2 separate regions of the Homo sapiens genome follow, and region 1 is linked to region 2. Evidence: promoter capture Hi-C in 16 types of primary human blood cells and fetal thymus (Javierre and others, 2016). All regions are on one chromosome and are shown on one strand. The core of a region is centred on a gene start or on the middle of the fragment in contact, and the rest is flanking DNA. Distances in the headings are between cores, read along the strand shown.

Region 1 (6,339 bases), core at 2,478-4,977, 110 kb after region 2:
TAAGAGCATGGGCTCAGTCATGTGGGGTGGGTTCAAACTCTTTTTACCTATGAGAGAGTTAAGAAATTGAACGGCAGTCTCAAATTTCGGGGCATCTGTTTCCTCATCTATAAAATGGAGATAATACTAGCACCAGCCTCCCATAGTTGTATGAGGATTAAATATACTTAGAAAATGCTCAGGATGAGGACTAAATATACTTGCAAAGCGCACTTAGCACTCAAACTGTTAGCTATTCTCACCATATATAGAGTGTATATATCAGAATACAATACATCTTTTAAAATTCTCATGGTAGGCCTGTTACCTTTTGGCAGACAAAGAATTTACAGCCGAGAAAGATTAAAGTGGAAAATGTAAATAGGTAAGACAAGAGGAAGTCATAGCACTGTTAATACGCTAAGCACAGGTTGGGAGGTTCTGTTCACTCCCCACAGGTGGGCCACAGACCCTGCGCCAAGGGAGGGGTACATGGTACTGTGAGCCATGGGGGTCCACAGGATGAAAACTTACCCATCGTTGTTGTGAAGGGGAATCTTTTTCAGTGCCGAGATGAGGGAGAAATTTCCTGAGCATCTTTTAGAGAAGACCCTGTGACATAGGGCTCAAAGTCCTCAACAGGCCTGAAACGAGTTGTTTCTCCTGGGCTGTTCCTCATGAAGCCCCCGCTGTGTGACCTGATGGCGATGCTGCCACAGAGGTTGTTCCATAGGCCAGATCATGTGGCAGTGCGCGGTGCTCTCTGCCGGCCTTAGGTAGATTTCAAAGGACTGGGAGAAAACAGCCTAGACGGCATATCCTTCAGGCCATCCTTAAATAGTGTTGTTTGCAGCAAAACTTTGCCAACAGTTGAGCAACAGGGAAATGAGCTGGATATTGTACTTCCTGTTTATACCTGGATGCCAGCTGCTTTATGTATCTGTGAAATACAAAAATGTGCATCTAAGTCAACTAATCCAGGATTGGACTCTTGTCTTCTCACGGAGGCTCAGGATGCTGGTGTGCATACGTTTCTGAATACTAGGCACAGAGTTTGGCATAGGAAGTTGTGGAATTTGGTGTCTACCTCAATGTAGGGACAAGGAGATCGAAGGCCTTAAGTTCTCTGCCATAGAGTGTGGGCCAGGGAAACTTGATCCGGAAAAAACATGCCAAACAGATATAAGCTTGCAAGTACCCGTAAGAGCAATTTTTTTTAAGTACAGTAGCCAAAAATGTTTGGTCCTGAACCATGAAACTTCTTGGTATATCTTTCAAGGTAAACCAGAAACCAAAACATGTACTTAGAGAGCAGAGTCAACTTGCCAGATGGGATTAGTGACCATAAACTGCCTAAACGTTGGGGAGTACCAACCAGGATTCATGACTCTTTTTGGCAGTTACTCCATTTAACTAATCCAAAAATTGTATCACATAATTAAGGCATAAATTTTAAAGCATGGGGATCAGCTAAGAAGCCATTGGTTTACGCTGCTATACTTTTCTGCCCAATACTGAGTCCTTGAGCCTGGCTCTCCTGGGAGAGTTCAGGGACCAGTTCTGAATGAGGATCTGTGTAACCAGGTGTGGTACTGATCACATCAGCCCCACAGCCAACTCCCATCTACAGAGTTAGGACAGTCAGCGACGCCCTCCGTTATACATCAGTCTCAGATTCCCGCCCCATCCTTACCAAGATCAAAGCACATCTGGCTGGTACACGGTGGACACTGGGAACCCGAAACAAGCCTGCACCTCATAGGATGTGCCTGCCCTGTGGTGCCTGGGCTTGGCGTTGACCAGGGATTGGTGTGCATCTTAGATGGCTTACTGATAAGGCGGTAGCCTGCATTTTGTAGGGAGAAACAGATTGTGCTTTTAAAGGATGGTATAGATCATGTTCCAGTTTGAGTCCCAGGGAGTCGGAGAGGGCACAGGGGCTGGGATGGAGCTCCTGGGAGAGTGGAGATGGCACTGCTTAGCATGCAGCCCCACAGTGTGGATGCTGTGGATGATGTTAATTTTAGAATTGCTGCTGACGACCAGTACTCTTAATTGCTTAGTATTTTACTTTAAACTGATTAATATATCTTTTTAAAACTTTGCTTTAAACTAATATTTGTGACATGAGTTTAATATGCTGGGGTTTAATTTTTGCCCTTGGAGCACCCACCTAAAATTATCCTCTCCCCCTGGCTTGGGCAACATTGTCACAAAAGGCCACTGTGTATCATCAAGCATCAAAAGAGATGCCTTCATTCCAGTCCTCAGTGAAAAAACAATGTACATGTAGCATCAAAAGAAGAAAGGCTCCTGGTTTGAATTACTGGTAACAACTAAAGTCTGGCCCACCCATTGCTTCCAACTTAGGGAGTTCTTGAGCCTGCATGGACAGGGTCATGTGGGGAAACTTGCTCTGAATCCCTCTCTAAGGTGCTCTGTTGCGCTCAGCCAGGCCTTGGTGCCATTATTGCACTGAAGCAAGGAAGGAGGATGTTGAGTTCCAGAGCCACCTTCCATAGCTCCGAACAGGGAGAGACTCTCAGAACCGGCCCTCCTGTGGTCTTGGAGGCTGGCTGCCTGGGCCATCCTGTGATGGGGCAGCCTCTCCAAGGCAAGTGGAGGTGTGCCCCAAATCCAAAGTGAGGTAGAAGACCCAACACAAGTGTAGGAATTAAAATACATAGGATTTGAGGAGATAAAAGTAATCAAGATGTAAATAGCTTTCTGGCGTAGCTCCCCCTTCAGCCAGGCAATACCATACCCTTGGTTGTTTCAACATTAGCAAAGAGCTGAGCAAATAAAAGGGAAGGAAAGAGGGTGGGAAAAGAGCAAAAGAAAGCAGAGTGGACAGAAGATGGTCAGGTGTCCTGTCCTCCCCACCCCCCCGCCAACCCCTCATCCCTTCCCTCAAAGAAGGCTTGGCCTTCTGCTCCACCTCTCTTTGCCTCAAACAAACCAAGTATATTCGAAAGGAACAGATTCAGGCAGAGCAGTGTTAGACTTCCTTGCCCTCAGTTTGGACATGAAGCTTCCTTGTTCTCAGTTTGGACATGACAGTTTTATTTTTATAAGAACTATCTTGATATAAATGAGCTTTCTTCTGTATTTTTGCTATTTGTGAAACAGCGACACTCGAATTCATTTCAATGGAAATGTAGCGATTTCTCATCTTACTCAAACAGCCAAATAGTTTTCTAAACAAATTTAGCAAGAGAATTAATCATGGCCACGGCCCAGTTCCCATGACATGGTATGGGTACTTTTCTATGTTCTATAAATTTAAAAGTATTAGCAAAAATTAAGAAATTGCTGCTTACTAGTGTTTAGGAATCTGAGGGTATTTATAAAGATCACACTTAGTGTGCCACCTGTAAAGACTTCTGTTGCTCCTCCTGTAGACATCTATAAGATTTACAAAATGAATCTGACAATTTCCAAGTTGTTTAATGGAAATCTTTGCAAGATTGGCATACATTTGCATCTTCTAATAACTATTAACTGTTAGCCATCAAGAAAGAAGTTTTAAAATGAACTAAGATGGATACTAAGCTCAGAAAAAAATGATATGGCTTTGTAATAAAGTGACATTATTAATTCTTTTACATCTTTGTAGTAGCTTGAGCTAATTAGGACACTTGACTTACAGTAAAAACAATTAACCCCACTTTAGGTTAAGCGTGAATGATTGGAGATGGGTCACATTCACATCAAGAATTGGTTAGTGTCAGATCTGATTCTCAGGGCTCCCTCCCTTCTCCCCAAGGGTTAGTCAAAGAAAATGTCACTCACATGATGAGGAGGGCCATCCCTCAGTGAAAGGGAATTGTAGAGTTTTATTTGCACCGGTGACTTGTGCATCTTTTGTGAGTTATTGCATTTTTGCTGACTGGGTGTTCAAACAAGTTTCTGTAGCAACAACAACACAAGATGATATAAACCAACAACCTAATTCACCCAGGATCCTTCATCTGCAATTCTCAAAGCCAAAAGGTTCAGAATACCAGAAGATTTTCTAAATAACTAATTCGGCAGCAAAACTTGACCTGATATGAGGCTACTGGGTGTCTTTATATATTTTGTTATAGAAATATTTAATTTCAAGATGCTGCCTCAGTTTCTGCTGGATATATTACAAGTCCAAAATCCACATTTTTCTGAATTCCAAAATGCATCTGGCACCAAAGGATTTCAGCTGTATGGGGTGGTTGTCCTCCAATATACATCTTAGTGAATATAAAATTCTGGAATTTTCAGGCTGGGAGACACCCTGGATGTAAGGCGGCGGTGGCGGGGCATGGGGAGAACTCCCTCACTTCATGGATGGTACAATGAGGCCCAGGGTCATTAGCATCAAGCTAATTGTAAACTGAAGTCACTCACTCATACCTCACACCAAACTTCACAACAGTGCATGCTGAGTCTGATCACTTTTAAAACACATTTATGATCTGGGTAAAATAATGAAGCTTGAGTAACTTATAGTGGTGGCAAGAAAAGCCAAAATTCTTAAAGTCCATCAACCAAAATGAATTACTTCTAGGATAATAAAACACTTTGGGTTAATGGTTATAAATGATTCTGTCTAAAGGAATACAGTAATTATTCACACAGTATAAGATGTATTATTTACTTATTTGTCCACTCAGTAAACATTTATTAAACATCCAAGTGCCAGATACGTGCCTAGGAACTGAATAGGAAGTCCTGAAAAGTATACTTCAGTCAAGATTATATTTTAGGTGTGAGTGGAGGTCGGGGGAGTTCTGTGGGTTTTAACTACCAACACATATTTATTGAGTTGTTGCTGTGTCTAATGGACTATAAACTCCGCATCCAGAAAGAACCTGCATTAGGTGAATCACTGAGCAAGAATTAGAGGCCAAAGTTCCAGGACATGAGATGCCCTGCTTAGACTTGTCACTATCTCCACTGAACCTTCTCTGGTCAGGCCACCACCATCTTTTACATAGAATATTGCAGTTGCTTTGTAAGTTGCATTCCTGCTTCGACCACCATCCTCTGCACAGCAGCTAGAGGGATTATTTGAACTTTATGTGAGCCAGATCACATAATTGCTTTCCTCAAAACCCTGCAATGATTCATCTTACCCACAGTCAAAGTCCTTATGGCAGCCACCACCCTCCGCATTGCGCTGCTTCGCCCTGGCTGCTCCTTCCCCTCGCTGCTTCTCCCTCTGCCTGTGACACTCTTGCCTAGAATCTGCATGACTACTTCCCTCCTCTCCTTCAAACCTTTGCTCAAATAAAGCCTATGCTGATGATCTCTTCTAGAATTGCAACTCATTCTGCCTCTACCACTCCAAGTATTCCAAATCCCCTTCTCCCGGGTTTACCTTTCACCTTGTAACATACAGTATAATTTCTGTGTTATGTTCTTGGCTATTGTCTGTTTCCACAAAGGTAGGGATCTTTGTTCACTGATGCCTCCCACCCACTTAGGACGTGCCTAGTGTGTGCTGGAGTCCTGGAAGTAGCTGTCAGGTGAATGAAAAGTGTCATAGGACTGGAGGGTGGAGCCTTGTGGAGGAGCGCAAGTGATGAGGATGCAGAAGGAGGAACAGATAACTTGGTTTCTTTGTGTCAACCTGTGACATGCAAGCTTGCACTCCAAGGGCCAACTACAGGAGGTCTTAGAGGTTTAGGCAGGCATGTGGCATAATCGGATCTCCACTTAGTTCTCCTGCCCCAGAGCAGAGAGCAGACTGGGGTAGGATAGGATCAGAGGTAGGAGCCCAGGTGGTTGTTCCAGAGTGTTCATGCTTATTACTGTTTTTACTCCTCTGAGTACTGCGATGGTCAGATAGTCTAGCAGCTCTCAACCAGGAGTGATTTTTTGGACATTTGGCAGTGTCTGGAGACATTTTTGATTGTCGCAACTGCAGAGTTGCGACTGGCATCTATGGATAGAGGCCAGGGAAGCTGCTAAAAGTATTACAGTGGACAGGAGAGCCACCACAACAAAGAATTACCCAGCCCCAAATGTTGATAGTGTTGTTGTTAAGATCCCTTGCAGAGAACGTCCAAAAGACCAACTCTCAAACCTGAGAACACCCTTGTTTACGATAGAAGCAAAATAAGCACATCCTATTCTCCAGTCCCGCGGGCGGCTCCATTACTTACCTCTTGACTCCTTGCCTCTGTCACCGCTCTCCCTGTGTGCCCACCATTTTTCTCTGGGCTTGCCCTTCAGCCTCACTGTTCTGCTGAGAAGGTAGAAGAACACTGCAGAGGCCCGAGCCTCAGGAGCTGGAGACAGATTTGCAGCCAGGAGATGTGGTGTCACTGTGTGCGCAAGTTCCGTGTGTGACATGGTGTCAGAGGGCTGCTGGCCTGGCTT
Region 2 (6,083 bases), core at 716-3,215:
ATACCTCATGCTTTGATTACTGCTTTCATTGCTATTCCCTTATTTTTATTCAAAAAATCAATGACTCCATTATTTTAAGGATACAGCGCAAACCCCTATGCTGAGCTCCATCTACAATCTAACCTTTCATGTGTCCTCTTGATCTTATATGAATTCTCCCTTGCACCAAACTGGGTATTCTCTTTAGTGTTCTCTAAATCCACTTTTCTGCATCTACACTTTTGTTTATTCCCTAAACGCATGTAGAACGCTCTTTCAATTTATCTTTACTTATCTCAATTCTATCTATATTTCCTAGTTCCTCCATGAAACTTTTCCTGATGTATTTTATCTGGAAAAACTCTTCCTCTTCTGAATTCTTATATAGAACTTACTGGCCAGGCACAGTGGCTCATGCCTGTAATCCCAGCAATTTGGGAAGCCGAGGCGGGCAGAACACCTGAGGTCGGGAGTTGGAGACCAGCCTGGCCAACAGGGCGAAACCCTGTCTCTACTAAAAATACAAAAATTAGCTGGGCGTGGTGGTGCGTATCTGTAATCCCAGCTACACAGGAGGCTGAGGCAGGATAATCGTTTGAACCCAGGAGGCGGAGGTTGCAGTGAGCCAAGATCACGATATTCTAGCCTGGGCAACGGCCTGTTTTGTCTCAAAACAAAACAAAACAAAAAGAACAACAAAAACTTACTGTCTTTATATAATTCATTTGGCACTGTTTTATGGCACGACATCATTGATCAACTATATTTTTGCTTCTATCTCAAACCTTTCTCAGGCCGTGTTTTTGTTTTTGGCAGTGTTCTTGTTGCCTAGCACAGTGCCATCTCACTTATTTGTTGATTCTGTTTCCTTAAAAACAAAGATGAGACCAATTCAAATCCTCATTACTGCGGGCAGCAACAAATCATCCAAACTCTGGCACTTCCAGTTCTTTCGAGCTTTCCTACCAGGTCGGAGGGTTGTCTTAAAACTTGAGGGAGATGAACTGAGTAAGCGATTACACTGAAAGCATGGGAGGGAAAGGACGTTCCAAACGTCCAATCCATCATCCTTTTGCAGCCTCTTAGTCACTGGGATTTTGAAATCTCTTTCCAAAGACTAGCTATGGCCCTAAATTGGAAATAGGCTACTTGAGAACACAGTGGATTCATAGTTCATCTCGGGCAGTTTTAGGAGAAATGCCACCAGCTTCTGCGTTTGAAGGCCAAGGTTAGCTGTTCATGGCGTGAGCACCTTCCTGCTTCCAACCTCCGGTTATCTGTAAATACCCAAGTCCTCTAATTTAGGACGCAGGTCATGGGAAGACGCTGGTTCTTAGGGCAGAAGTGAGCTCACATTCCCAGCATTTTTCTTAAACTTGGCAGAACTGCACTTTAACAAATTAAAATCCATGTGAATGAAAAGGAAAACTTAAGTAGGAAACAAACTTAAGCTTGAGTCAGTTACAGCATGGTGAGGATGTCGGTTACAGCAACACTCAGAGACCGATGAAGGAGAAATTCCAGTGGTGGGCTGGGAGACCGTCTCCATTCCAACTCCACCGCTTTTCTCTACAGAGACCCACGCACGCCAGCTCCCGCCTCAGTCACAAGGGAACGCCCGCGTGGGCAGGCAATCGTCCTTGGTGAGCCGGGATCTCCTCACCCCGAGAGCCGCAGGCTCCGCTGACGCCGGTACAGGTCTCGCTGCGACTCCCTCTGGGCGCGCGGAATCCTGGGACTTGTGGTCCCTTCCGCGCGCTGTCCGCCCTAACCGGCGCAGAGAGGACTACACTTCCCAGGATGCGTCGGGGGAAGAGGCCACAGGGACAGGCAGAGGGAGGGGGCGGCCCCAGTCCTCCGGGGCGTCGCTGTTTCCAAGCGGCGAGATCTCGCCTAGTAACCGGCAGCTGAGGTTCACTAGCGCGGCGTTGTGGCCCCGCCCCCGGAGCCCCGGCTGGAGGAAGAACCTGTCTCCCGCGGCGCCCCAGTGACGAAGTCCATCCCCGGGTGCGGGAGGCGGGGAGGGGAGGGCAGGCAGAGGATTTCGCTCGCTCGCCCGCGCGGGATCCGGGACGCGCCGGTGGCGTCCGCTGGCAGCAGAGGTTAGAGGCAGAGAGCGCGCGGATGCTCCGCGGGCGAGGCTGGTTCGAGAGTGGGAGGAGTGCAGGGCGCCGCCAGGGCGGCAGTGCGCGCGGGCCGAACAGTCCTGAGGGCGGGCATCCCTCGCGCAGCGCGCCGACCCCCGGGACGTGTGCGTCTGTGGGGGGTTGCTGTCCCCCGGGTCCCTCGGGCGACCCCTCTCCACGCTGGGCTCAGGGCAGGACCCGGGATTCCGTGGGACCCGGTGTTTAGCGCAGAGGTTTCTGGGGAGAAGTACACGATTTTTGCCACTTGTTATTTGATTTCTCCTCGACCAGGAGCGTTTGTAGGTAGCGCACTCCCTCCGACTGCACTAGTGCCTCGTTTCTTCCGAGTAAGACAATCTTTCATGATGCGGATTGGAGTTGCTGATCAATGAGAGCTGCTAAGTTCTTTATGGCTTTCTCGGTGAAGAGAAGGTTCACGGAGGATATGATTATTAAACACACACATGAAAACTAATTGGAGCATCTAAAAAATGACCATTGCATATTCGCCCTCGCTTATTAGGGAAACAGCAAGCGTTCCTTCAAATCGCATCAGCAACTGCCAGGCAGCAGCATTTACGCATATTTCATATCATTAAGGAGATGGAACTGGAGAGAGAAAGCGGGAGTAGGGGACAATTTTTAAAAATACCCAACTTGGTTTAGTTTGGGGATAATTTTCTTGGATTGGGTGACTTATGCGAAAAATCTGTTTCTTTCTTCCTCGCTCTCGCTTCCTGGATATAGACTGTCAATTTCGGATCCAAAGACGGCGATGGCAGAGCTCACCCGGGTTGCCTGTCAAATCAAGGCTATCGCAGAATAAATCCCGCCGCCTGCCGCGAAGCCCCGGCGCACCGCAAACTTCAGTGAGCGAACTGGGTGATCGCTGTTGGGATATGCAGATTCCTGATGTAAAAGGCGGGGTGGCCCCCCCGAGAGCCTCTCCCGGGGGCCGGAGCCCGCAGGTGCAGTGAGGCGCGCGCGCCGGTGCCGGCGCCCCCAGAGCCGCCTTGCCCGGGTAGAGGGAGCCCGGCGCCCGGCGGGGTCTGGCGGCCGCACACCGGCGGCGGCGGCTTGTCTGCGGCGGCTGCAGCGGATGATGGTGGCGGCCGGCCCGCTGGGCTGTGCCTGTGTGTCGCCGCGGAAATCAGCGCCCTGCGCCGCGCGCTGAGCCCCTGCAGGTCCGCCGCAGCCCCAGCCTCGGCGAGGACGGCCCCGGCGCGCGGGGGGGCGGGGGGCGCGCGGGGTCGGCTTATCATGGCGGATCGGACGGCGCCCCGCTGCCAGCTCCGGCTGGAGTGGGTGTACGGGTACCGGGGTCACCAGTGCCGCAACAACCTGTACTACACGGCAGGCAAGGAGGTGGTCTACTTTGTGGCTGGGGTCGGGGTGGTTTACAACACCCGCGAGCACAGCCAAAAATTCTTCCTGGGACACAACGACGACATTATCAGGTAAGGGGGTGGCCAGGGGCGGCGGGGAGGGGTTGCGTGTGGAGGCTGGGAAGGTGGGAAGCGGTTGACCTGGGGTCGGATCCGGGAGCCCCGTGGAATAGAGGATTCTCTCTGGAGCCGCATGGAATTACTGAAGGGCTGCTGATTCTAGGGCCAGGGCAGAAACAGTGTGGGGAGTGTAGGTGAGGAGGGAGAGATGTCTTTTCGCTGTATCCCTCCGGAATTCTGGCTTTTAAATCTCCAAGGAGTTGAGTGTTCTGATGCTTTCTTGCTGTTCTTTCCTGCTACAAGTGGAAGGAGCCTGGGTAACTATGAAACACTTCTTCCTTCCCTAACCAGGTGCACGGTAGGACCAATAACCTGAAGTGTGGGCATCATCTTTGGGAGGCTCCTCAGTGGGTTTCTCAGTAAGCAAGAGGATTAAAAAAGATCTAAAAGAAATTTTACTACTGGTAATTTGGAATCTTCATCTCAGATGCTTTGGACCTGGGAAATTTCTGCAGTGGGTGGGGAGTTTGTTCTCTAATATTTCACTTGGCAGTGTTTTAATGCCCAAAGCATATTTATACACTAAATGGATGCTTCCACAGCATCATTGAGGTTATTAAAGGCTGGCAGCTGCTGGATCACAAAATCCTACCAGCCAGCCCACACAATGACCAACATCTGCTAGCGGATGGCCCAAGACTGACTGACAGGAGAGCTCATTTGGATGAATGGCCGTTTTAGGGGCCCTCCCGATTAAATGGAAAGGGGTTATATTGTGATTCTTGGCCCTATCCTCTCATCTTTGGACCAGACACATTTTCCTCCAGCCCTTGTCAGCTTTTATGTGAGCAAACAAGGTATGGGCCAGATGCTGTTCACAGGGAATCCTTTTCAGCCTTCAGCAGTTAAGGAAGATTTTCGTCATATGGGAGCCTCAGCCCACAGGGAAAATGACTTGCTGAGGATGGACTACAACTGACAGAGACCATATTTATACCTTCCAAACTTGTGTGTTTCATTGATGTAGAACAACTACCATTACATTCTCAGAATATTGCCACTTTTGCTCTAAGTTTGTCTTTCACAATGAAATAAATGAAGTGATGTCATGTCCATGCTCCTAATTTCTCAGTGCAGAGAATGATTTCAAAGATCAGCTTTTTTTTCCCTTCCTAATGATGTGCTTATATTCCAGAGCCTTTTTTTTTTCTGAGACCTAAAGTTGAAAAATTGTTACAGAAGGCAAGCACTTAATATTCAAACTACAGATTTTAAAAAATCTTGACTTTTTTTGAAGATGGGAGTGCTAATGTTCTCAAGATTTAGTGGAACTAGCATGTAAAACTTTTTTCATGTCACGTATGACACAAATAGCTTTTTTTCTTCCCTCCCTAACATGGTAGTTGTTGTGCTTGGGGCATCCTTACATAGTTTTGTTCTGCAGATTTTGCTTCTCTAATTGCTAGGCTGATTATGAAAGTTACAGGTGCAAATGATTAACAATGACTCATGAAAAGGTTAGATGTTTAAAAATTTAAACCCATTATGTTTTTGCTCTCTCTGTCTTAATGCAGTGCTTTCCATTACAGCATCAAAATAAGATGTAGTCCTTTGGGTGAAGGGAGAGAGTGGCAATTAAACAGAAAATTCTCTGTGGTTAAATAATATTAATGTGACAGTTCACTGAACTACTTTGTGGATTTGAACTCCTAATCCTAATTTTTTCTCTGATACAAGGAAAAAAACCAAATGCACTGTTGAAGCTGAAGGTGGGAAAAGGGTGGAGTTGCAGTAAACCGTTGTTATGACAAGCAGCCGGGCTAGTGGGATGTGATGAAATCTAGCTTGGGTGGTTAAGGAAACATTCAGATTTGAAGAAAAGGTGAATGAAGTGATGTGTATAACTGGGTTTGCAGGGAGCCTTAACTGATGAAGGGAAAAAGAGACAGTTAGCATCTGATCTATTCATTAAGCTACTTTAGTGACATAGTAGTAAGCCTGATTTCAGAGGAAGGACTGTATTCATAATTCTCCACAATATTTGGTTGGGTCAGAGTATGTATAGGTGAGCAGAGCAGAGCAGAGTTCCTTAACATCCAAATATGTCTTTGTACACAAGAATAAAATTAAGTTCAATGAATTAAGAAACACAAACCACAGATTATTATGGAATTAAGAGCTATGAAATTGGAATGTTTATGCTGTTCTTTTGCTTTGTCTTACATATGTAAATATCTTTTTCTGGTGAAGACACTGCACAAACCACAATGCACAATTTTTTGTCCTTATGAATTTTAATTCGTTTCTGTGTATCCCGGTTACTACTATTCTTCCACCTGAAATATTGAAGTTTGTTATTAAATGGAGAGGACTATAGCTAAGGTTCTAATGCAAAAGTGTTTTGGTTTTTTATTGAATCATTACATGAATATCAAAACTTGTTCGTTTCTAATTCTTGTTTCCATCAGGTGAGATAGCATAAGTAATTGTCCACTTGGTACATAGCTTTTGCATTAGTTTGAAAGATATATTC

What was found. Contacts are between HindIII fragments. The CHiCAGO score rates a contact against its expected background, and 5 or more counts as called.
Region 1: a fragment that was not itself captured here is called in contact with the fragment with the promoter of EML6 in region 2 in 1 of 17 cell types (endothelial precursors); the score reaches 5.8 in endothelial precursors.

What each region holds. Positions count from the first base shown.
Region 1 is chr2:54,829,882-54,836,220 of GRCh38, forward strand. All of the region lies in intron 7 of EML6 (EMAP like 6), which reads left to right. Among named protein-coding and RNA genes, the nearest start is that of EML6-AS1, 82 kb to the left of the region's middle. The HindIII fragment of the contact is 1,438 bases long and covers 3,009-4,446 here.
Region 2 is chr2:54,721,697-54,727,779 of GRCh38, forward strand. It overlaps EML6 (EMAP like 6), which reads left to right and starts at 1,966. Exons shown (of 42, transcript NM_001039753.4): 1 at 1,966-2,081; 2 at 2,853-3,562. The coding sequence starts at 3,366. RefSeq lists an enhancer at 1,499-1,718 and silencers at 1,859-2,348, 3,020-3,169. The HindIII fragment of the contact is 5,681 bases long and covers 1,429-6,083 here.